Linked DNA regions of Homo sapiens: regions 1, 3, 4 and 5 are each linked to region 2. The links are contacts of gene promoters, found by promoter capture Hi-C in blood cells and fetal thymus (Javierre and others, 2016). All regions are on one chromosome and are shown on one strand. Each heading gives the region's core, a stretch centred on a gene start or on the middle of the fragment in contact. The rest is flanking DNA. Distances are from core to core; before and after follow the strand shown. Region 1 overlaps CMC1 (C-X9-C motif containing 1). Region 2 holds the start of EOMES (eomesodermin). Region 3 overlaps CMC1 (C-X9-C motif containing 1). Region 4 overlaps ZCWPW2 (zinc finger CW-type and PWWP domain containing 2). Region 5 overlaps NEK10 (NIMA related kinase 10).

Region 1 (4,676 bases), core at 1,980-4,479, 540 kb before region 2:
GCCAGGTGTAGTGGCTCACACCTGCAATGGCAGGACTTGGGAGGCCAAGGCAGGCAGATCACCTGAGGTCAGGAGTTTGAGACCAGACTGGCCAACATGGCGAAACCCCATCTCTACTAAAAATACAAACATTAGCGAGGCGTCATGGCGTGCGCCTGTAGTCCCAGTTACTTGGGAGGCTGAGGCAGGGGAATCACTTGAACCCAGGAGGCAGTGGTTGCAGTGAGCTGAGATTGCGCCACTACCCTCCAGCTTAGGCAACAGAGAGAGACTCGGTTTCAAAGAAAAAAAAAAAAAGAAACCTAGGTAATGGGTTGATGGGTTGATAGGTGCAGCAAACCACCATGGCACAAGTTTACCTATGTAACAAACCTGCACATCCTGCACATGTATCCCAGAACTTAAAGTAAAGTTTCATTTATTTCTAAAACCAAAATATACTGCATCTTCCTCTGTGAGAAGAAAACTAGCCATTTTATTCAAGGGTATTTATGTCCAACTACATATAATTTTATTGCAAAACTGTCCTGTTTTCAGAAACAAGATAATCATAATAAGCTATTGAGTCTGATAATGAGCATATGAGCTAACACATACAATTGAGAACCACTGGATCAGTAAGTAATAACCATTATACAGTAGTCCCCTGTTATGCATGGGGGATACGTTCTAAGCCCCCTAGTGGATGCCTGACACTGCAGATACTACCAAATCCTATGTATACTATGTTTATTTCCTCTACATACATACCCCTGATAAAATTTGATTTATAAATTAGGCATAGTATGAGATTAACAACAACTAATAAAATAGAATGTTTGTAACAATAAAAGTTAAGTGAATATGGTCTCTCTCAAAATATCTTATTGTACTATAAATATCTTATTATACTAACCCTTCTTATGATGATGATATGAAATGATAAAACTAGAACCTCAGTTGACCACAGGTAATTGAAACCATGGAAAGTGAAACCACAAATAAGAAGGACTGCTATATACTTTGTTCAGTTATTTTTAAAATAATTCAGCTGTATTTATGATTGATATAAGCCTATTACTCATGATTCCATTGGCATAACACCAGGCATGATAGGCATACACAAATAGTTACTGCTAAGTAACTTTTATTATGTCCATGTGCAGAAAAGAGTTAACATAGCAGGCATGACACTGCTATCCTTAAAAGGCTTGCTTGCAAGATTGGCCCTTAGGTGGCATCGGAGAACTCGGATCTTGGGAGTGTCCCCATTTCGTAATTGATAAGAGTGGCTCACTGTGCCCAAACTGTTTGTACAAACAATATGATTTATGCTGAACACCTGCTTTCCTTCTGGGAATCTGAAATTTTGGTACATGTTAGGCAGAGGGTTCCCAAATGTTTTATTGAGAACAAATTCTCAATAAAAATTCTGGGGACTGAGTCTCTAATGAGCCTCCCTGGTAGACAACATTTCACATGTGTTGTCACAATACAGTGCTGGAGAAATTAAGCACACCCTGAGTGACTCTACCAGGAGAAGACTCATGGAGCTTGTGCCACGGTTTCTTCTGAACTTTCCCATATGCCTTTTCCCTTTGTTGATTTTGCTTTGTATCTTTTTGCTGTAATAACCTTTAGCTATGAATAGGATTATATGCTGAGTCCTGTCAGTCTTCCTAGTGAATCAACCAATCCAATGGTGATTGGGAACCCATGAGATAGTTCAGTGTAAGTCCAAAGTGCAGAAACTGTGCCTTATATCTACTTGTATTTCTTAGACTGTATAATATACTCATATATAACAGCTATTCATCATATGCGGTGATTATTTTCCTTTTAGTATATCAAAACCAGTCTCAAGATGTGTTGCATATCCACTTCAGCATTAGTTAATACTGGTGCACTGGTTAATGACAAAAATACATGTAATAAGAGTGGTACACCTCAAACAACAAATAAAAAGGCAGATTTTTGGCAGCTTCAAGTAACACAGTTGGACAGAAGAGTGATTACTTTGACCATGTATATAGTCTGCAGCCCTGCAACCTATTTCAATGCTGTTCTGATAATTACCTGCCTGTAAACTTCCTAAAGAACATTCTAAGCATTCTTGACTTGATTGTTTTTTGTTCATTCACTTATCTTTGGAATTTCACAAAATACAACATACTTCAGTTCTGTGTGATTGACAGAAGAGCGCATTTTATCAAGCTTCTTTGTTATTTACCTACAGCTCTGTGATGTTTCAAACAAACAAATAACCCATGCTTCCTTGTACTTTATGTAATTCTTTCAGAGCTATATCCCACTTATTGGACAACAGATCATAAAGACTGCAACATAAATACAAAAGAAACATTAAAATAAGGGAAAAGAGGGCCCAAGGGATGAAAGGAGTCAGTAAGAGAATACAGCTAGGTTAAAGAAAGTTCCAGCCCATCCCTGATGACAAAATACTTTTCTGTCTTTACCTGTGATAGCAAAAGGAAAAAAGAGAAAGGGCTGTTATTATTTCTAAAGCAAACGTCATTATCCAATATAGAGACTTTATAGCAAATGTCAACTATGCACTTCAAAAAAAGCAAAGAAATATAATGAGGAATTTTTACAAAACACTATACAATTCAGTGACTCTTCCTCTTATGGAGAAAAATGTATTAATACTAGTATGCACACTTTACCTATATACGGCAAACAATATTTTTTAAATATTACTAACAGAAAACATAAATCATTTAATTAGTGAAGTCAAACAGCTAGAAAAAGACAAAAGTTGAAATCCAGAGTTTGTCAAACCATCTCCCTAAGACACAAGGTGCTAACTCCTAGATCCAAGAAAAAGCAATGATTTCATCATTACAGTTGGTGGGAGGTTACTGTTTTGGCTTTTGGAAGGTGAGGAAAGTGGGAGGAAGTAAGAAAGCGATTTGGCCATTCTAGGGTTTTCCTTCAGTTCCATTCCCAATGTACTCAGTGTTCACTGTGTTAATATCTACCAGTATACTTCAGTCATTTATTTTAGCGGCTTTATTCACCACCAACAATATCACTAGCAAAGAAAGAATACTATAAAATTAAATTTTATATTTAAATCAATTAATTTTTCTTTTGATATCAACAGAGTTTATAATCTTGTCAAAGTTTCCCCAATAGCAAGATCAGGATTCTCCTTTGTAATCAAATCAAAGTTCAAAAAGGAAAGGTGCTAAGCACTATTCTTCTCTTCAAAAAGAAACATAGGTTGAGCGCAGTAGTCCACGCCTGCAATCCCAGCACTTTGGGAGGCCAAGGTGGGAGACTTGTTTGAGCCCAGGAGTTGGTGACCAGTCTGCACAACATAGTGAGACTCCATTTCAAAGAAAAAGGAAAAAAAAAAACCATATACTTTTGTGTTTATTTTACATTATTAAAAATATATTTTATAAAGACCAAGATTCAAGAGTTGACACCATTTAAATAATATGAACACTATTTGTCACCCAAAAGCTAAAATTTTTTTGTATTACGTTATAGTTTTCATTATACTGAAATGGCATAGTTACTGGAACTTATACAAATTCACTGTAGAATTAGAATCATGTAATTCCAGATTAAAATTAAATTTTAGAAGTATAAGGGTATATAATGATGAAACATTCTAAATGTTATCTATTGCTTAAGACAAATTTTAACTGTATTTAAACATTAGGTGAAATATGCAACTCAGACTAATTCAGTGTACATTAAGTAAAAACCAATGGTGTATAGATAAAGAGGGTATCATGTAAGCTGGTTAAAAAATTAAAATGAAGACAGAACTAGTAAGAATATAGCAACCTGGCTGAAATTGATATTCATTAGGGTACTCCTCACATCAATAGGTAACATTTGGACTCTGTGGGCTTTATCAGTGTCCCAGCTGGTAATGGTTGAAGGTTAATGCCTTACCCAATTCTGTTCAATTTTCTATCCTAATTAGCCCTGCAAATCTATAGCTGTGAGCACCAAGTGTCTGTGCTCAAAAGAAACTAATTAATGCTAGCAAATTAGATCAAGTCCAAAGATCCAACAGCCAAACTCTTAGTTAAATGCTCCTTGTTAATAGGAAGTGTAGCTGTCAATAACTGCTGTTGGTGACTATAATGAGGCATCTTTCTTTCATTGAAAGTGATTTCATTTCTCTTTGTCCATGGAAAAGCTGTTCCATTCCCTTCACAAACCTAAGTTGCTGGCAGTCTGACCCAATTCTTATGATCAGCTGGGTTGAAATGACATTAAAAAAAAAATCTAACGGAAAAGCTTTCCTACATAATCATGTTTTAGGCATTTAGCAGAAAGTCAGATCACTTATTAAAATTCCTGTATCTTTTATCTAAGAACCATACAATTGGCATATATAATGCTTTTATATAAAATCCTATAATTATTTAATAAAGCAAAAGCTATAAACAGTAAATAAACTACAATGGAAATGTCCCGATTCTAAATTATGTATAACTGTTGAGTTTAAATGAAGTTTTCTTCTGCTGCTTGAATAATTCTAATGTATATGATTTCCTAATTTATATGGTTAGAAAATACTAAAGACTTCTTATTCTCTTATCAATTTTAGATTCTAAAATATTGTTTTGAATCACATGGCCTAAAAAATCAATACATAATTATCTATAAGATATTCAAATTATATTATTACATTCTAATATAGATGAATACAT
Region 2 (4,893 bases), core at 1,862-4,361:
GACTTGCTCATCTATAACTCTCCAGGCATTCTAGACTAGTATATTCTAAATGTAATAATAATAATAATAATGTGATTAGCTAATTAACACAGAGGAACCATTAAATGAGATTTTTTATCTTCAGCCAGAAAAAAAAAGATCTGTAGCTGAAACAGTGCTTTTCATTATTTTAAAGAGAATTTGTAACATATACTTACAAATGTAATGTAATACAATATGTAATATAATATTATGTACATATTTTCCATGTTCCAAAAATCCTGGGTCCTAGAGTAGTTTTATAGAAACTGAATTTTTATTCTCTTTGAATTTGTCTTTGCTCCTCCATATGTAAAATGTGTTGAAGTTTGGGAAAAATAATAGATTTACTGGGGAAGTGGGTAGATATCAACCAAAATTTCCTGTCCCCAAGAATCAATACAAATTCTAATTATATACATCGTGTGTATATTTAATAATTAGGTGGTGCTCATACTGAACTCATGCGCTTTCAAAAGCTTGCTCTGGGGCTGGAATAAAATCAACGCTTTCTGATGTGGCTCGGGGGACAGCTGGCCCGCGTTATTCGCGCCAGAGTGGGTCGGAACGATGCCTGTTGCCTGCGATGGCACTTTGCCACGCGAAGCGCTTCCCTGGCTGCGTCAAAAGCATTTTGAAGGGACGCCGAGGCCCGCTTCTTGCTTTGTTAAAGCGCAAAACTGTCATGTACCTTTGGCCACCCTAGCTCCAAATAACGTGAGATTAGGTCTCACATTAGGGAGATTTCTCATCCCTACTTTTGCCTTAGATATCTTGCAACTCAGGTAAAGGATAATGTGGAGGATCCTACGAATAGTAATCAGGACCCGCTAGCCCAGGGATAGATACGTCGTCCAAGCCGCCCAAGCTGCACGGCCTCTTTCTTTCCTTGAGCTCGCGTACCCCTCACGGGATCTTCACGTTGACAGTCATGAGGTATTCACAGAGCTATACTACTTGAACAATCAATGTTCTAGACTTCCTTGGGTCAAAATAACACTAAAGCAGGGGAGGAAGGCATGGACAATGTAGTGATCAAAACAGCCGTGCCAAACACTAACTATACTGATGACACAAAACGCAGGAAGCGCAGGGCAGAACGCGCTCAGTACCAGCTTTCTGGCGATCTGCTCCTGGCCACTCTGTCCCAGGACCTACAAGGCCACCGCCCCAGCCCACTAGTCTCAACTTGCCCCCTCCCCTGTGGCTGTGCCTTGACCCTGAAAATCTTCGCGCACTCCTGGGTTTCACCACCACACACACGCGAGCGCGCGAGCGCGCGAACACACACATCAAAAAAGAAAAAAAAAACCGTGATAAATGCCCTGGAGAGTCTAAGTGCATTAAGGACCTCGTTCTCGGAGACCCCAGACATGCCGATGTTGGTGCTGCTGTGGTTGGAAAACTGGGTTGGAAAGCTTCGCACTGTTCTACACTTGCGTGTGCGCACTCAGCAATCCTTTGGCCATCTCATCTGTTGTGGGCGAAGAGTTTCCCGTGTGATCGCGTTCGGTTGGGGAAGCAGAGTCCCGACATCTCAGCCGGAAAATGCGCTCCCGGAGCGATTACTGGCGGCGTCTGTAATTGCTTATTAACAGCGAATATTCAGGCTTCTCCTTATCCGCAACGAAACGTGCCCCCCGCTTCCGTAATAATGAAACGATAAAATATGACGGCCCCGCTCTTGAATCTATCTGAGGAAACGCAGCGAAGAAACAAGCAGCTGGAGTTTAATTCAATATCAAACTGATTATTTCACTAATTATTCTACCTTCTGTATTTGCCGCAGAGCAGAGGCGCAGGGAATCCTAACTGTGGGGCTGTTAGGGAAGCTTTGTTTCTTGGTGTCAGGCCTAACTGAAGATGGTGGTGAAGGGACGGAATCCGGGATCAGGAAAACTGAGCAGAAAGGATTTTAAATTGTGGGGAATAAAAGTGACTGTCTCCCCGAAAGCAGTTGTGTTGGCGTGAGTATGAAGTTGGTGTTAGCTCGCTTAGTTTCACTCTTGTCCTGTCCCCAGTACCCTGTCCAAGCTTCTGATTTAGAAGCTGAGAGCTTAGGTCCTCCAGGATGGCAATGTGCTCTGGCCGTCCCCGGAATCCCAAAAGCTTAGCGCGAGTTTCCTCTCTACAAACCTTTCCCACTGGGTAAAAGGATGGGAACAAACAAAAAGTGGTTCTGTGCGTTGAAGGCCAGGGAGTTTGCCTTCGACAAGAGGAAGGTGTGCTTTGAAGTTACAGCTTCCGACGAGGAAAGAGACTTCCTTGGGCCTGTCTCCAACTTGCCCCAGTTTCCCCAGCCTCCGGGACGGGCGCTTCCCTGCAAGCTATCAGCTTGAAGAGTCTTTCTCTCTCTGGCCTCTAAAATCTGCTCCAGCCATCTCATTCCTCCAGCGGAGGGCTGAGATGACTAATGCGCCAAGGGTGGACACCGCTATGGAGACCCCAAACTTTGTCCCCCTAAATTCCGGCGAAATTACAGACACCAGGATTGATTATCACAGCGGGACGCAGTCTCAAAAAAAAAAAAAAAAAAAAAAAAAAAAAAAGGAAAAGAAAGTCACAGGCGACTTGATCCAATTAGTAAATGCCTAATTGAATTAGTGTCACCTCCACCAGCCAATAGGAGGGTCTCCGGGCTGTGAGGCCGGGAAGCCCCTCCCTGGCCGCAAATATATAAAGCAGCTAGTGACAGCCCATAAGTTTCCAAGTGGTCAACTTGACCGATGCTTTGGCAATTGAAAAAGGGCAGAAAGGCGCGGGCTAGTGGGTGGATGGGGACAAAGATCTAAGTCACCTTCTTCCAGCGTGTGAGCCTGGGAGGAGGGTGGGGGTCCTGAGGAGCAAGAGGTACGAGGAAGGAAAAGGAGAGGGCTTCTGGGTTAGTTTCCACCTCCTGCTTTCCAACTCACGGCGCTTTCCTTCCGGAAAGGACGCTGGATTCAGGGCGCGCCAGTACGCGCAGTAGCGGCCCGCGAGTCGGCAGGTGGGTAGCCCCGGCGCGGGAGGAAGGGGAAGTTACCTTCCCCTCGGAAGAGGGCGCTGGCTCCCCCATCCTGCCTTTATAATAAGGCCACCGGAGGAGAGGAAGCAGCCAGCTGCCGTCTGCGCTTTGCAAAGCATGCAGTTAGGGGAGCAGCTCTTGGTGAGCTCAGTGAACCTGCCTGGCGCGCACTTCTACCCGCTGGAGAGTGCGCGAGGCGGCAGCGGCGGGAGCGCTGGCCACCTCCCCAGCGCGGCCCCCTCTCCTCAGAAGTTGGACTTAGACAAAGCGTCCAAGAAGTTTTCCGGCAGTCTCTCCTGCGAGGCGGTGAGCGGGGAGCCCGCAGCCGCCAGCGCAGGGGCCCCCGCGGCCATGCTTAGTGACACCGACGCCGGGGACGCATTTGCCAGCGCTGCGGCAGTGGCCAAGCCGGGGCCCCCGGACGGCCGCAAGGGCTCCCCCTGCGGGGAGGAGGAGCTGCCCTCCGCCGCTGCAGCCGCCGCCGCCGCCGCCGCCGCGGCTGCGGCCACTGCGCGCTACTCCATGGACAGCCTGAGCTCCGAGCGGTACTACCTCCAGTCCCCCGGTCCTCAGGGGTCGGAGCTGGCTGCGCCCTGCTCACTCTTCCCGTACCAGGCGGCGGCTGGGGCGCCCCACGGACCTGTGTACCCGGCTCCTAACGGGGCGCGCTACCCCTACGGCTCCATGCTGCCCCCCGGCGGCTTCCCCGCGGCTGTGTGCCCACCCGGGAGGGCGCAGTTCGGCCCAGGAGCCGGTGCGGGCAGTGGCGCGGGCGGTAGCAGCGGCGGGGGCGGCGGCCCGGGCACCTATCAGTACAGCCAGGGGGCTCCGCTCTACGGGCCGTACCCTGGAGCCGCAGCGGCGGGATCTTGCGGAGGACTGGGGGGCCTGGGGGTTCCAGGTTCTGGCTTCCGTGCCCACGTCTACCTGTGCAACCGGCCTCTGTGGCTCAAATTCCACCGCCACCAAACTGAGATGATCATTACGAAACAGGGCAGGTGAGCGCAGCGTGGAGGGGCCCCTGGGTTCGGGGATAAAGGGTGACGTGTGGTCCTGGGGAAGGTCCGGGATGAGGGAGCTGAACCCAGTTGTTCCGCGCGGTGCTTAGAGTGTTTCACCGCGCGCAATAAATCTCCGTAGACACCGCATCTCCAATGCGGTGTCCCTCTGTGTCAGTGCCCCGGCGGCTCTTGCAGGGTGCCAATGTTACGGCTGTACACCGCTTTTCCCTCCCATCATCCTCACCTGAACAGACCTGGAGGAGGCGGAAATGGAAATTAGGGCATGTCCACAAGCTGGATTCGTTAGATCCTCCTGCTCGGCGGTATGCTTGTGCATGCCTGCATGCCGGCAAGGAGCCACGGATAGGGAAGGCTCAAGAGCTGGCCACCTGAGCGCAGTAGATGGGCTCCCGCAGTTTTAGGCGCCAGGGTCTCCACGGGGCGTCTCCGGGAGGTGGGCATGAAGGCTAGAGCGCCGGCCTCGGAAGCTCGGTCGGAGTAGGTGGTTAGATCTGCCCTGGAGCCAGACCTGGCTCGGGTTCGGTGCGCGAGAAAGTTCTGATATACATCCAACTGCTAACACTGGCTACTTCTGGGGAAAGGGAGGGGTGGGTGCTGAGAGAGGGGCACTCAAAGGGGACTTTTAGCCTAAAGTTTTAATATATATTTTTAACAAGAATAACCTAATATTGTTCTCTGGTACTTTTCAAAATGGTGCATTTAAAAATTAGTAGTTTTTAACATTCTAGGAGAAAAATTTTAAGAGCGTCTGAAAGGGCCGAGAATATGAGCCTTCGGAAGCACGCGCGAATTTGGAATATACCGATGTTGGGGCAAGCTTTTTTTTTTTTTTTTTTTTTTTTTTTTTTT
Region 3 (4,755 bases), core at 190-2,689, 580 kb before region 2:
TGGTTAGATCATAGCTCTCTGTAGCCTTGAACTCTGGGCTCAAGTGATCCTCCCACCTCAGCCTCCCGAGTAGCTAGGACTACAGGTGTGCAGCACCACACCTAGCTAATTTTTTTTATTTATTTTTCCTAGAGACAAGGTCTTGCTATATTGCACAGGCTGGTCTTGAACTCCTAGCCTCAAACAATTCTCTTGACTTGGCCTGAATAATACATTTTTAAGGACAAAAAGGAAATATAGTATTCTCATCCCATTAGACATTTAACAGGAGTGATTTTTCATGAAGTATAATGTAACAAAAACTTGTATCCCATTGTGCTAAAAACAGGGCAACGCAGTACTCTTTCATCTTTTATGATATCTGTGTGTTGAAATGTACTTGATCCAAATGCTAAAGACAGATATATTTAAAAGGTGATTAAAAGGAAATAGTATTTGTAAATCTAAAAGTGAAAATGTTTTAAAACTATGGAGCCAAAAAGATGGCCATCTTAACTTCAACAAAATTATGAGTCATTGGTGTTTTTAAAAATATTTCATTTTGGCTGGGCATGGTGGCTCACACCTGTAATCCCAGCACTCTGGGAGGCCGAGGTGGGCGGATCACCTGAGGTCAGGATTGGAGACCAGCCTGGCCAACACATGACAAAACCCTGTCTCTACTAAAAGTACAAAAATTAGCCATGTGTGGTGACAGGTGCCTGTAATTCCAGCTACTCAGGAGGCTGAGGCAGGAGAATTGCTTGAACCCAGGAGGCTGAGGTTGCAGTGAGCTGAGATCATGCCACTGCACTCCAGCCTGGGTGACAAGAGCAAGACTCTGTCTCAAAAAAAAAAAAAAAAATTCTTCATTTTAAAGATGTAAGTAGTTCACCAACAATTATTATATATTTAGAAAATGCTAAAGATTCCTCTAAAAGACTACTGCATTGATAAATGACATCAGTAAAGTTTCAGGACACAAAATCAACATGCAAAAATCATCATTTCTATACACCAGTAACGTTCAAGCTGAGAACCACATTAATAACTCAATCCCATTTACAATAGCCACACACACACACAAATACCTAGGTAGACATCTGGCCAAGGAGGTGAAAGAGCTCTACGAGAACTCCAAAATACTGCTGAAAGAAATCACAGATGAAACAAATGAAAAAACAACCCATGCTCATGGATTGAAAGTGTCAATGTCATTAAAATGCCCATAATGCACAAAGCAATCTATAGATTCAATGCTATTCCTATCAAATTACCAATGTCATTTTTCACAGAATTGGAAAAAACTATCCTAAAATTTATATGCAACCAAAAAAGAGCCCAAATAGCCAAAGTAATCCTAAACAAAAAGAACAAAGCTGGAAGCATCACATTACCCAACTTTAAAATATACTACAAGGCTATCATAACCAAAATAGCATGGGACCAGTACAAAAATAGGCACACAGAACAATGGAACAGAACAGAGAACCTGGAAATAAAGCTGCATACCTACAACCAACTGATTTTCAACAAAGTAAATAAAAATAAACACTGGGGAGAGGATACTTTATTCAATAAATGGTGCTGGGGAAACTGGCTAGCCATGTGCAAAAGAATGAAACTCCATCTCTACCTCTCACCATATACAAAAATTAACTCAAGATCGCTGAAAGACTTAAACGTAAGACCTCAAACTAAAAAAAAAAAAAAAAAAAAAAAAAAAAAAATTCCTATGAAAAACTCTTCTGGACACTGGCCTAGGCAAAAAATTTATGACTAAGATCTCAAAAGCAAATGAAACAAAAAGAAGATTGACAATTGGGACCTAATTAAACTAAAGAGCTTCTGCCCTGCAAAAGAAACCATCAACAGGGTAAACAGACAACCTAGAGAAAAGGAGAAAATACTTGCAAACTATGCATCCAACAAAGGACTAAGAGATGTTGTTGAGGATGTGGAGAAAGGGAATGCTTATAAACAGAATGTAAATTAGTTCAATCCCTGTGGAAAGCAGTTTGGAGATTTCTAAAAGAACTAAAAACAGAACTGGATAATCCCACTACTGGATAGCTGCCCAAAGGAAAAGAAATAATTCTACCAAAAAGACACTTGCCCTTGTATGTTTATTGCGGCACTACTCACAACAGCAAAGTTATGGAATCAACCTAAGTGTCCATCAACAGTGGAATGGAGAAAGAAAATGTGGTACATATATATCATAGAATACTACACAGCCATAAAAACGAAAACACATCCTTTGCAGCAACATAGATTTAGCTGGAGGCCATTATCCTAAGTGGATTAACAGAGAAATAGACAAATACCGCATGTTGTCACTTACAAGTAGGAGCTAAACAATGGGTATGCAGGGACAAAAAGATATAAATTATAGATACTGGGGAGTCCAAAATGGGAGGGAAGGAGGAAGGACAACGGCTGAAAAACTACCTATTGGTTACTATGATCACTGTTTGGGTGACGGTTCAATAGACGCCCAAACCACTGCATTATACAATATACTCATGTAACAAACCTGCACATGTACCCCTCAAATCTAAAGTAAAAAGAAAATACATTTTAAAGATTAATGGTAAACTAGAACCTATTAGAGCTATATGGAGTCAGAATCTTTAAAATAGATTATGTTCCAGGTTCATGATAAGCAGTTAGTGGCAATCAAAGGACATAAACCATTCCAAGTTATAAAACTTTCAGAACAAGTAAAATAGGGAATAAAAATTGGGGCTTGCTATGTTTAAATTCTTATTATACTTTCTAAAGTCATTGTCTTCATTCTTCTATAAATTATTTGAATACAACTTTAAAATATAAAAACTAACAAAATGTATCCATCAGATGACTATCTTTTCTGGGAAAGTTTGGGTCAAGGAAGGAATAATCATTATTGTCAAATGCTGTTGAGACGTCTACTAAGATGAGTGAAAATCACCCAACAGTTTTTATGTTAAAATTTTAAGCGATACTGTCCAGAAATACCTTAGATTCACATAATTCCAGTGAGGGGATTAGAACAGATAAAAATCCTTACTTCTTATGTGTGATGCATTAAACATAGCTTTTATTTTCAATTCTCTAGGACAGTTAGTTCCTTATATCCATATTCACAGGTTTCAGGGATTATGACTGAGACATCTTTGGGGACTATTATTCTACCTAACATAGGCAGAAAATGAAAAAAAAAATCCAGTGACAAAAGGAATATAAAATATCTCATTAAAAATTTTTATATTGGCTGCATGTTAAAAAGATATTATTTTTGATATATTAGGTTAAATAAGATGTATTTTTTTAAGAGACAGGGTCTCACTATGTTGCCCAAGCTGAATGTGGCTAATGCGACTGCATAACTAAATTTTTCATTTTAATTAAAATAGCCATGTATGTCTAATGGTGACCATGTTGGACAACATAGCTAAAGACATTTTTAGTTCCTTATACTTCAGGTGAGATGCAAACAGGTGGCTGATGATGATTTGGCTACTGTTTTATGATTTATAACTTATGATCATTCTAGGCTTAGTTATCTTCCATATCTTTCCTTGGAACATATTTTCTTATCCACTGATCCTTTTTAAGCCTATTAAAATACCTAATCAAAATAAAATATTTAAGAAAATAAAGACTAAGGTAAAAAATAATCATTCAGCAAAGCTTACTTGCTTAGCTTATATTTGTTCAATAAATATTTGTGCATTTGTATATAAATGAATAACTGTAAATATTCATATATATTTATCGAACAAATAGCTGAATAAGTGAATTAATTGAAGGAGTGTTAATAATTCTCATTTTCTACCAGCTTTTAGTTGATTTAACTCACTCTAATATTTTAAAATATGTTGCTAAATAATCTCTGCCATTACTGTTATCTAACTTCTTTGACAAAGATCAAAATTTCCAACATTGTACTTTATCATGACTATCTCTTCAGTTTAGTAAAGGCTGTACTCAGCATTTATTCATAAACAAAATTCAAAAAAACAGTAACAAAACTTCGGGGTTTCATAGCAAAATTAAAAAGTTTCAGGAGGATACTGAGATTCATTATCTCAGTTGATTAGAATATAAGTTTGAGATTAAAATGTGATTCTTACAAGAAGCAGTTAAAACACTAGGAACATACATGATGGAAAACCAAAATTCAAGAATACATTAATAATGTTGAATAGAAACTGTCTTATTTCAGGTGGCCTTTTTCTTGTTTTTCCATTTTCCCATGACAACTTCCTAATCATTTTTTGCAAGGTAGTTAATAATGTCAGTAGTAATAGCAATAAAAACATGAAAATGGCAACTAAGATAAACTGAGTGTTTACTCTGTACCAGGCACTACTATACTAGGTACTTTATGCGTGTTAGCTCACTTGAATTGTACAAAAACACGATCAAGTAAGCACTATTTTTATCTTCATTTGCCAGATGAATAAAATGAACTTTAAATAGGCTACATCATATTTCCAAGATTAGTGTGGCATACATAGATTGGTTTAGAACCAGGTCTTTTAACTTCAGAAACGTTATCTGTAATTACTATTGGATCTCACTTATTCCTTTCCAGAACACATGAAAAACTCCTACGCTTGGCAGAAATTTCCATGCCCACGCAATAGAGACTTAACCCAGGCCAGGTATCTCACACATGAGGTCACAAATGAGACCTGGGAAGCAAGTGGCAATGGTTCATCACATTGTATCACTACCACAGGAAAGAATAAGGTAGACACTGTTGCTGGTTTTTTGCTAAATGACCAC
Region 4 (4,445 bases), core at 738-3,237, 660 kb before region 2:
GTAACCATAAGGCCTGGATGCAGTTGGGCTGGGACATCTCGTCAACCTTGAATATCCATGCTTTCAGAATAGTGCTGGAATAAAAGTTCTTCCACATCATACTGTATTCTGGCACCTGATCATGCCAGGGGATGAGGTGGTATTTCTCTAATTATTAATTAAAAGCTATACAGGCCAACAGTCAAGATCCCTCTAATGGAACTTCTCATATGGCCTTTAAAAATTGCTATGCACTGTCTGCTTCAGAGTGGGATGGTGTCACAGAGACTCACACTTTGAGCTATTGACCCCTGTCCCTTTGAGCTTTCTCCAGTAAATTAAATACTGTTTCAACAGGTCTGATATGTGCAGGTCTTGACTACTTGTCTTGTTTTCACGACATGCCACATTATGGATTAAAGAAGGAAAACCATATGATCATCTTAATATGTCCCCCAAAAGCATGAGAAATTCAACATCTATTTGTGATTCTTACAATAAAAAATAAAGTTTAATCTTAACCTAGCACCACTTATAAACATAAATTCTAGACTGACAAAACAGTATAAAATATGTATAATATTGAAGTAGAAATGTATGTAAAACACAAAAGTCATAAAAGAAAGATTGGCTGGCCGGGCACGGTGGCTCACGCCTGTAATCCCAACACTTTGGGAGGCCAAGGCGGGTGGATCACTTGAGGTCAGGAGTTCGAGACCAGCCTGGCCAACATGGTAAAACCCCGTCTCTACTAAAAATATAAAAAAATTAGCCGGCCGTGGAAATGGGTGCCTGTAATCCCAGCTTACTCAGGAGGCTGAGGCGGAAGAATTGCTTGAACCCAGGAGATGGAGGTTGCAGTGAGCCAACATGGTCCCACTGCACTCCAGCCTGGGTGACAGAGTGAGACACCGTCTCAAAAAAAAAAAAAAAAGAAAGAAAGATTGGTCAACTTGAATGTGTCAAGATTAAATCTTCTGTGTAACTAAAGGTACACTGAAAAATTAAAACCATAAAGTAAATTGAAAGGCAAGTAACCAGAATGAAATATTTTCAGTATACAGACACATGAATTAATACCCAGAATACATAGTCTGAAGTGAATGTACTCAGTAGAAAAGCTTCAGGAAAGCAGGGAAGCCGTAAGGTTGCTTTTCTTGTTTTTAGAATATTTTTAAAAAATTTTCTAGTAAGACTAATTTTATTTAGTATAAAAGCAAAAGTTTGACAAGCAGTATTTAATAACATAAAAAGTACAAAACAGATTTGTGATTTCTAACATATTAATACAAAGTGTATAAATACATATAACATATTCCATGGGTAGAGAAAGATGAAAGCAAGGAAAGAAGACTGTGGTTGGGTCTAGTAACAAATAAATAAACACAGAAGTAGAGATAATCCACATTATAGTATATTCTACTATTAATACCAGCAGAAATGTATTACCCAAATTTAAAATATGGAGGAAAATGATAATGGCTAGGGCTCTAGTAATATACCTCTAAAGCTGTGGGAGAGCCCAGGAAATTCACTACATGGTCTGTGTATATGGTGGTATGGAGCATATTGATTTTTTCTAAAAGGAAGAAATATTAAATTTTAAGTTTAGATGAATAATTATAAAATTACAGGGTACCCATACCATCCAATTTTTTAAAAATCCAGTTTTAAAAGTAAGCATTGAGTCACATTTTTATAAAATAGGCAAATGTTCTTCATTCATTATAAAAAGTGTGAACTGACTTTTTTCCCCTGAACTTTCAGAAAAGTGGCAAAAAGAGTACTTTGGTTTAGGTTCATGTGAGGGAGGCTTTTAATGAAAATTTTAGAATTGAAGAGGTCCACGTTCAGAATTCATTAATCACCTAACATCCCAATATTTAGAATGTCTTGACTTAAAAAGGCCACCCAAAATCCAGCCCACTCAGCTTTAACACACACCTCTTATCTTCTAGATTTTTTTTTTTACTTATAAAGTAGAAAAAAAAATATACCCTAATAGGTTAAACACACCAAATGCCCATTTTACACAGGTAAAACCTTCATAAAGGCTAATTGAATCCATAGCTAAAACTGCATTGTGCAGGTTTTCAGTGACATTGTCAGTCACATAATACAAATAAAATAGTTAACTATTTATATCCATGATAAGCCCACGGATAACAAGAAATGTAATCCAAGAAGCATTAACCTTTGCTTTGTGTCATATTTAAGACTTGCATGTTTTATTTTTCCAATATGTAACATTTAATAGAGTGTATTAGCTACTATGTGGTAATGCTTTGGTACTATTTGCATAGGTTCTTTCATCCTAAACATTTGCCATTTTCCCAAAAGGAACTGTGGTTCTGCTTTAGATGTCTTATATAAATTAAACACCTTATTGAGTATTAATATTGGGGAGATGACACAGGATGCAACATAGACAGTCAAGTTACCTCTGTATATTTAGGAATTACCCTCTCCTTCAAGGTATTTGCACTAGAAAGCTAAGTCTGCCCTGATTAATATTTCAATAGTACAGGGTTGAGTGATCAAAACCTTGGCAAAACCTTAATTCAGAATTGTTAACAAATACTGCTAGTGTCAATTCCATGTGATTTCATTATTATAAATTTATTATTATGAGGCAAAACAAGTATAGCCCGTCATCGTTGAAAATGCTTCAACTATTACTTCTTAATGTGGAAAGACTGAAACTAACATTTGTTTTACCATACAATTAATATAATATCTATGTACCCTGAAATTTCCTTAATTTTACTCATTAGGACAGGATTTTGAAAGACTTAAGGGCACTTTACAGAAGGATCCAGCTTTCCTATCAAAGACTCAGTATCTTAAATATTATATGTACCTTTTTTCTCTTTTATTAAACTAGATTAAGCTTTAGAGTTTGTGAAAATGGAGAAAATAACCAATAAAAGGATTCTATAAATTGTCTTTGGCACAATAGTAAGTATTCAAAACAAAAGCAAGAAAACCACTATTATCAGCTGAATTGTTTGCCCTCCTCTCCAAAAAAATTCACATGTTAAAGTTCTAATCTCCAGTAACTCAGAATATTACTCTACTTGGAGTTAGGGTCTTTAAAGAGGTAATTAAATTTAATGAGGTAATTAGGGTGAGCCTTAATCCAATATGTCTAGTGTCCTTGGAAGAAGAGGAAATTTGGACACAGACACATACAGAGGAAAGACTATGTGAGGACAGGGAGAAGATGGCCATCTACAAGCCAAAAAGAGAGGTCTGAAACAGATCCTTCCCTCATAGCTCTCAGAAGGGACCCATCCTGTCAACAGGGTTGATCTCAGACTTGATCTCAGGCTTCTAGCTTCCAGAATTGTGAGAAAATAAATTTCTCTTTTTTTTTTTTTTTTTTTGAGATGCAGTTTGACTCTTCTTGCCCAGGCTGGAATGCACTAGTGCAATCTCAGCTCACTGCAACCTCCACCTCCCAGGTTCAAGCGATTCTCCCGCCTCAGCCTCCCGAGTAGATGGGATTACAGGCATGCACCAACACACCCAGCTAATTTTGTATTTTTAGTAGAGATGGGGCTTCTCCATGTTGGTCTGGATGGTCTCGAACTCCTGACCTCAGGTGATCCGCCCACCTTGGCCTCCTATTGCTGGGATTAGAGGTGTGAACCACCACGCCTGGCCAAATTTCTGTTCTTTAAGCCAGCCAATCTGTTGTACTTTGTTACAGAAGTCCTAGCAAATTAATACAGCCACTTTATTGTTCCAAAATTTTGTTTTTGAGATAAGGGTTCTCTCTGTTGCCCAGGCCTGGGTGCAGTGGTGGGATCATAGCTCACTGCAGCCTCGAACTCCTGGACTCATGCAATCCTCCCACTCAGCCTCCTGACTAGCTAGGAGTACAGCCGTGTGCCACCATGCTCATCTAATTTATTTTATTTTTAGTAAAGACATAGTCTCACTGTGTCACCCAGGCTGGTGGTGTTCTAACATTCACATACGCAGTTGACCCTTGAATAACATAGGTTTGAACTGCATGGGTCCACTTACATGCAGACTTTCTTCCACCTTCATCATCCCTGAAACAGCAAAACCAACCCTCAGCCTACTCAACATAAAGACAGTAAGGACGAAGACCTTCATGATGATCCAGTTCCACTTAATAAATAGTAAATATATTTTCTCTTATGATTTTCTTGGTAACATTTTCTTTTTTCTAGGTTTATTGTAAGAATACAGTATACAACAGATATAACATACAAAGTATGTGTTAATTAACTGTTTATGTTATTGTTAAGGGTTTCAGTCAACAATAGGCTACTGGTGAAGTTTTTAGGGAGGCAAGCAATTCCTGCATAGTTTGGAACTTTGAGGAGGACAAATGAGTAAGGAATTTTATTTTCTATTAAATGAAGTACTTCCCCATCTGCCATCCTTTCAAGAGAATTCAGTAAAGACTTAAATTAATAATTGTTTTACTTTTC
Region 5 (4,992 bases), core at 2,119-4,618, 540 kb after region 2:
AAGTCCTCCAACTTTGTTGTTCTTTGTCAAATTTGATTTGGGTGTTCTAGGTCTGTTGTATTTCCTTATTAATTTTAGAATAAGTTTGTCTAATTTCTTCAAAAAATCATACCTACAATTTTTATTTTTACCCCTTGTTTTAACATGGAGAATCTTGGCAACATTTTAAAAAATCAGTCTTTTATTTTACTTATTCAACAAAATTTAGTAAGCATTTATTCTTTCCTGGGACCTATTCTAGTATTCTCCTGATACAGTAGTGAACCAAACAGCCACAGACTCCCTCCTTCATAGTGAGAGAAGACAAATAATAGATAAATAAAACTATATTTAAGTGCTATGAACAAAAATAAAAGAAGGCAAGGTAATAGAAAGTGATTGTAGACACAGGGAGACAGGCTATTTTAAATAGGGATGTCAGTGAAGGGCTTTATAATTACATGACATTTGGGCAGAGACCTGAATACAGTTGACCTTTAAACAATGTGGGTTTGAACTGCATGAATCCACTTATACATGAATTTTCTTCTGCCTTTGCCACTCCTGAGGCAGCAAAACCAACCCCTCCTCTTCCTCTTCCTCGTCTTCAGCCTACCCAATGTGAAGATGACAAAGATGAAGACCTTTATGATGATCCACTTCCACTTAATGAATAGTAAATATAGTTTCTCTTCTTTGTGATTTTCTTAATAACAAGCTAGAGGAAAGAAAATGTTATTAAGAAAATCACAAGGAAGATAAACTATATTTACCATATGACATATCAAGTATGTATTAATTGTTTATGTTATTGGTAAGCTTCTAGTAAGCAGTAGGCTATTAGTAGATAAGTTTTTAGAAAGTTAAAAGTTATACATAGATTTTTGACTGCATGGAGTATTGGTGCCCCTCACTCCCATGTTGTTCAAGGGTCAACTGTACATTAAAGGGATAACCTCTGCAAATATCTGAAGGCACAACATTGGTAGCAGAAGGAGTAGCATGACCAAAGATCCTGAGGTAGGAGTGAGCCTGCCAAGCTCGGGGAACAGCAAGGAGGCCTGTGTGTCCAGCGTGCGGTGAAGCAGGGAGAGACAGTTGGACATGCAGGTGCCATAGTCCCTGGCATGCACTTGAGTAATATGAGTTCTGAGCAAGCCAAGGTGGCACCACTAGGCTTTAAAATGATATAGGTGGCCGCTGAGTAGGAATAAACCACTGAGAGCCAAGAATGAAATCAGGGAAATTGGTTAAGAAGAGATTGCAGTGGGCCAAGCAAAAGACAATGGTGACTCTTTTTCTTGACTTTTAATTCTTTCTCTACTGGCAATTAATCAGTTTGGAATTTTGACAACATGTGCAAAATGTGCAGTTTAACAAGAACTAGACCTTTCCTTATGTAACTCTGTGTTAAAAATGAAACAGTCAATGAGGTTCTAATTTGGTGTTTCATTCCTGTTGATAACCACTCATTTCTAATTCCATACTCTTTAATTCCTTAAGCATTGGTAAATTTCAATGACATTGTTTTTTTGAGAAACAAAAAATTTCTTAAAACTTGCCCACTTGATTGTTCTCTGTACATTGTTCCTTCCCTTCCCTTCCCTTCCCCTCCCTTCCCCTCCCCTCCCCTCCCCTTCCCTTCCCTTGTCTTTCTTTTTTGAGATACAGTCTCACTCTGTCACCCAGGATGGAGTGCAGTGGTGTGATCTTGGCTCACTGCAACCTCCACCTCCCATGTTCAAGTGATTCTCCTGCCTTCGCCTCCTCAATAGCTGAGATTATAGGCACGCACCACCATGCCTGTCTAATTTTTATATTTTTAGTAGAGATGGGGTTTCACTATTTGGCCAGGCTGGTCTCAAACTCCTGACCTCAAATGATCGGTCCACTTTTGGCCTCCCAAAGTGCTGGGATTAAAGGCATGAGCCACCATGCCTGGCCCATTGTTTCTTTCTTTTTTTCTTTTTTTTCTTGAGACAGAGTCTTGCTCTGTTGCCCAGGCTGGAGTGCAGTAGTATGATCTCAGCTCACTGCAACCTCCGCCTCCCAGGTTTAAGCAATTCTCGTGCTTCAGCCTTGCGAGTACCTGGGATTACAGGTGCCTGCCACCATGTCTGGCTAATTTTTGTATTTTTAGTAGAGACCAGGTTTCACCTTGTTGGCCAGACTGGTCTCAAACTCCTGACCTCAGGTGATCTGTCTGCCTCAGCCTCCTGAAGTGCTAGGATTACAGGTGTGAACCACCACGCCCAGCCCCCATTGTTTCTTTTAAATGTTAAATAGAATTACCTGATCCTGGCCTCATTTGAAATGCTTTTAAATATATTGGTATATACATTTAGTTCTATTGGCATGTTAGTCTGCTGTCTTGGAAAAACATGGTGGTCAGTATTGTTGTGATGGACCAGATCTTCTGTATTCTTAACAAATGATAATTTCAGATTATGACATTGTTTTCCTTCTCCTCTTTGTTAGTATTATTCCTTCTAGAAAACCTGTATTTGAGTTAAAAGTGATAGAAAATCCACTCATTTCTGATACAGTACTAGGTTAGTTATGGGATAACAGTGAAACATTTTTAACCATAATAAATTTGATACTGGAGTTTTAGATTGAATTGTAATGACCAATTTATTCCCTAATTTATTTAATTTAATCACAGCTCATTAATATGTAATAGTGCTTTTAAGACGTTCTAATTAAGATAGTATAATAATGAGATAATAACTATGTCATGACAGTAAAATTTTTAGCTTTGTGTAAATATTTAATAAGTTCAAAATAAATAAGATCCAACCTAAAGAGAATATTTTCTTTATTATATAATCCATATAAATTAGTTATTTTTAGGGCCCCAAAACACCAGTTTTTCTGGTTTAGATTTAACTATTGCTCTCTTAACTGTATGTAGAGAATGGGAGAAGGGAAATTCTTCAAGATTCCCTGATGAAAATAGACGATGTTACCATCCAAACCATTTTGGGAAAGCTGGACACAGTGGTGTGCCTCTGTATTTCCAGCTACTCAGAAGACCGAGGCAGGATGATCCCTTAAACCCGGAGGTTCAAGAACAGCCTGGGCAACATAGTGAGAACCTATTTCTAAAAAACAAACAAAAACTAACTTTCAGGATCAAAGATTAAAGATTTCCATCTACCACTGGGTAGGGGGTGGGACCAGGCTCCAGGCTTATTCCATCAGCCCACCTCTCTGATGTGGCAAAGCCAAGTCTTCCATAGGGAGGCCTGGAGAAAAGGTTCCTATCTCACCACTACAGTGAGCAGTTCACTCAGCTATGGTCTAGTCCACAAGGTTCCTTAATCATCTGACCACACTGGCTGATTTTTAAAAATATACCTTAAAATGTAGGGACTAAGTTTATTTACAATAGTATGCAGTCAATGGCCTGTCTCCTAGTTTGAATTTTCTTTGTGCAATCATCCATGAAAAGCATAGAATGCGGTGCCACTGATAAAAGATCACCTCAGCTGGATGAATTTCTAGCACCTGGTAGCACTAAATTGAGATATTTAAGGGTACAGTTTATTAACAAAACAGATGGAAGAAACTGGGTAAAAATATACCTAATAGAATATGAATATTTCAGAACACAAAGAAATAGTGCATTTTTTAGAGTTCTAAAGTAAAGCATCTATAGGATATAGCTGTTGTTATGCTTTATATTTATTTCTTGATTTTCTTTCTCTCCTAAAACTTTCTGGCAATTTTAAAAATTGCACTGATTTTAATAAAATAGATGCCCTTAATTTTCCTACTGTAGCAGTTAATTTGGGTAATGTCAGTCTGTTACTGTTAGAATTGCTATTCAACTGAAAATGTATTATGATCTGCTGCACACATAAAAATATTACATTATAATGCGCAAAACCGAGCTAAACATAATTGTGCCAATACTAGCGTGGTGACAGGAAGCATCTTCTATAATGGTGCTGATTTCCATATCAGTGATAATTTTATTGTGTGATTTGCGTTGTATTCTCCTTGCCGCCGTATTGATATCCGGAATGTGTCTATCCATTCCTAGGATAGATGCATGCAGATGCCAAAAAAACTAGTTAACTCCCTCTCCTACTCCTTGAAAAATCTTAGTAATTAGAAAGTGAAAAAGATTATAGCAGCCAAATTCTGTCTCCAAAAACTTTGCCTTTTTTCTTGCCTAAATCCCTTTAATAGGTTAATGTACTTGCTGGATGTGTCTTCTGAGGACAACTTAATGGCTCAACTATTTATTGAGCCTTTGCTATGTGTAAGGCATTGTGCAAAGCACTAAAGGATTTAAAATGGACTAAAGTGCCCCCAGTTCTTCAAGGAACAATTTTATAAAGAGTTGGATACTCAAATACTCACAGTGAAAAACTCCAGAAATCACAGTAGGGAAAATGTGTGGCATATGGTTTATGGCAAGGTCAAAAATTATATCAATTTTTTTTTGAAGCAAAAACTGCTGCAAGGGATTGTTATAGAAATATATATATATTTTTTTTTTTGAGACAAGAGTCTTGCTCTGTCACCCAGGCTGGAGTGCAGTGGCACAATCTCGGCTCACTGCAAGCTCCGCCTCCTGGGATCATGCCATTCTCCTCCTTCAGCCTCCCGAGTAGCTGGGACTACAGGCGCCCACCACCATGCCCGGCTAATTTTTTTGTATTTTTTAGTAGAGACAGGGTTTCACTGTGTTAGCCAGGATGATCTTGATCTCCTGACCTCGTGATCCACCTGCCTCAGCCTCCCAAAGTGCTGGAATTGCAGGAGTGAGCCACCATGCCTGGCCTAGAAATACAAATTTTAAACCCAAACTATCCATCTATATTATCATATTTTTATGCATACAGAGTCTGAAAAAGCATCTCTCTCAGATTGTAAATTCCCCTTTATCAGAATTTATGCAAACAGTCAATTACCCGTGGATGAAATTTTGGCAGTTACAAGTGACTATTGATTTATGACCCAATTGGTTCTTGGGTTTTGATTGCAAGTCCAGCGTCCTTA

What was found. Contacts are between HindIII fragments. The CHiCAGO score rates a contact against its expected background, and 5 or more counts as called.
Region 1: a contact is called between a fragment that was not itself captured here and the fragment with the promoter of EOMES in region 2, in 16 of 17 cell types (total CD4 T cells, naive CD8 T cells, total CD8 T cells and 13 more). The highest score is 35.3, in total CD4 T cells.
Region 3: a fragment that was not itself captured here is called in contact with the fragment with the promoter of EOMES in region 2 in 16 of 17 cell types (total CD4 T cells, naive CD8 T cells, non-activated CD4 T cells and 13 more); the score reaches 44.8 in total CD4 T cells.
Region 4: a fragment that was not itself captured here is called in contact with the fragment with the promoter of EOMES in region 2 in 5 of 17 cell types (total CD8 T cells, total CD4 T cells, non-activated CD4 T cells and 2 more); the score reaches 6.2 in total CD8 T cells.
Region 5: a fragment that was not itself captured here is called in contact with the fragment with the promoter of EOMES in region 2 in 1 of 17 cell types (neutrophils); the score reaches 5.4 in neutrophils.

Annotation. Positions count from the first base shown.
Region 1 is chr3:28,265,188-28,269,863 of GRCh38, reverse strand. All of the region lies in intron 2 of CMC1 (C-X9-C motif containing 1), which reads right to left. Among named protein-coding and RNA genes, the nearest start is that of CMC1, 26 kb to the right of the region's middle. The HindIII fragment of the contact is 2,067 bases long and covers 2,196-4,262 here.
Region 2 is chr3:27,720,541-27,725,433 of GRCh38, reverse strand. It overlaps EOMES (eomesodermin), which reads left to right and starts at 3,111. Exons shown (of 6, transcript NM_001278182.2): 1 at 3,111-4,020. The coding sequence starts at 3,140. RefSeq lists an enhancer at 56-930 and a silencer at 3,476-3,685. The HindIII fragment of the contact is 2,734 bases long and covers 2,130-4,863 here.
Region 3 is chr3:28,302,734-28,307,488 of GRCh38, reverse strand. All of the region lies in intron 2 of CMC1 (C-X9-C motif containing 1), which reads right to left. Among named protein-coding and RNA genes, the nearest start is that of ZCWPW2, 44 kb to the left of the region's middle. The HindIII fragment of the contact is 4,434 bases long and covers 1-3,656 here.
Region 4 is chr3:28,381,083-28,385,527 of GRCh38, reverse strand. The region is part of intron 1 of ZCWPW2 (zinc finger CW-type and PWWP domain containing 2); the gene reads right to left. Among named protein-coding and RNA genes, the nearest start is that of AZI2, 34 kb to the right of the region's middle. The HindIII fragment of the contact is 1,769 bases long and covers 1,103-2,871 here.
Region 5 is chr3:27,177,044-27,182,035 of GRCh38, reverse strand. All of the region lies in intron 26 of NEK10 (NIMA related kinase 10), which reads left to right. Among named protein-coding and RNA genes, the nearest start is that of NEK10, 190 kb to the left of the region's middle. The HindIII fragment of the contact is 5,135 bases long and covers 801-4,992 here.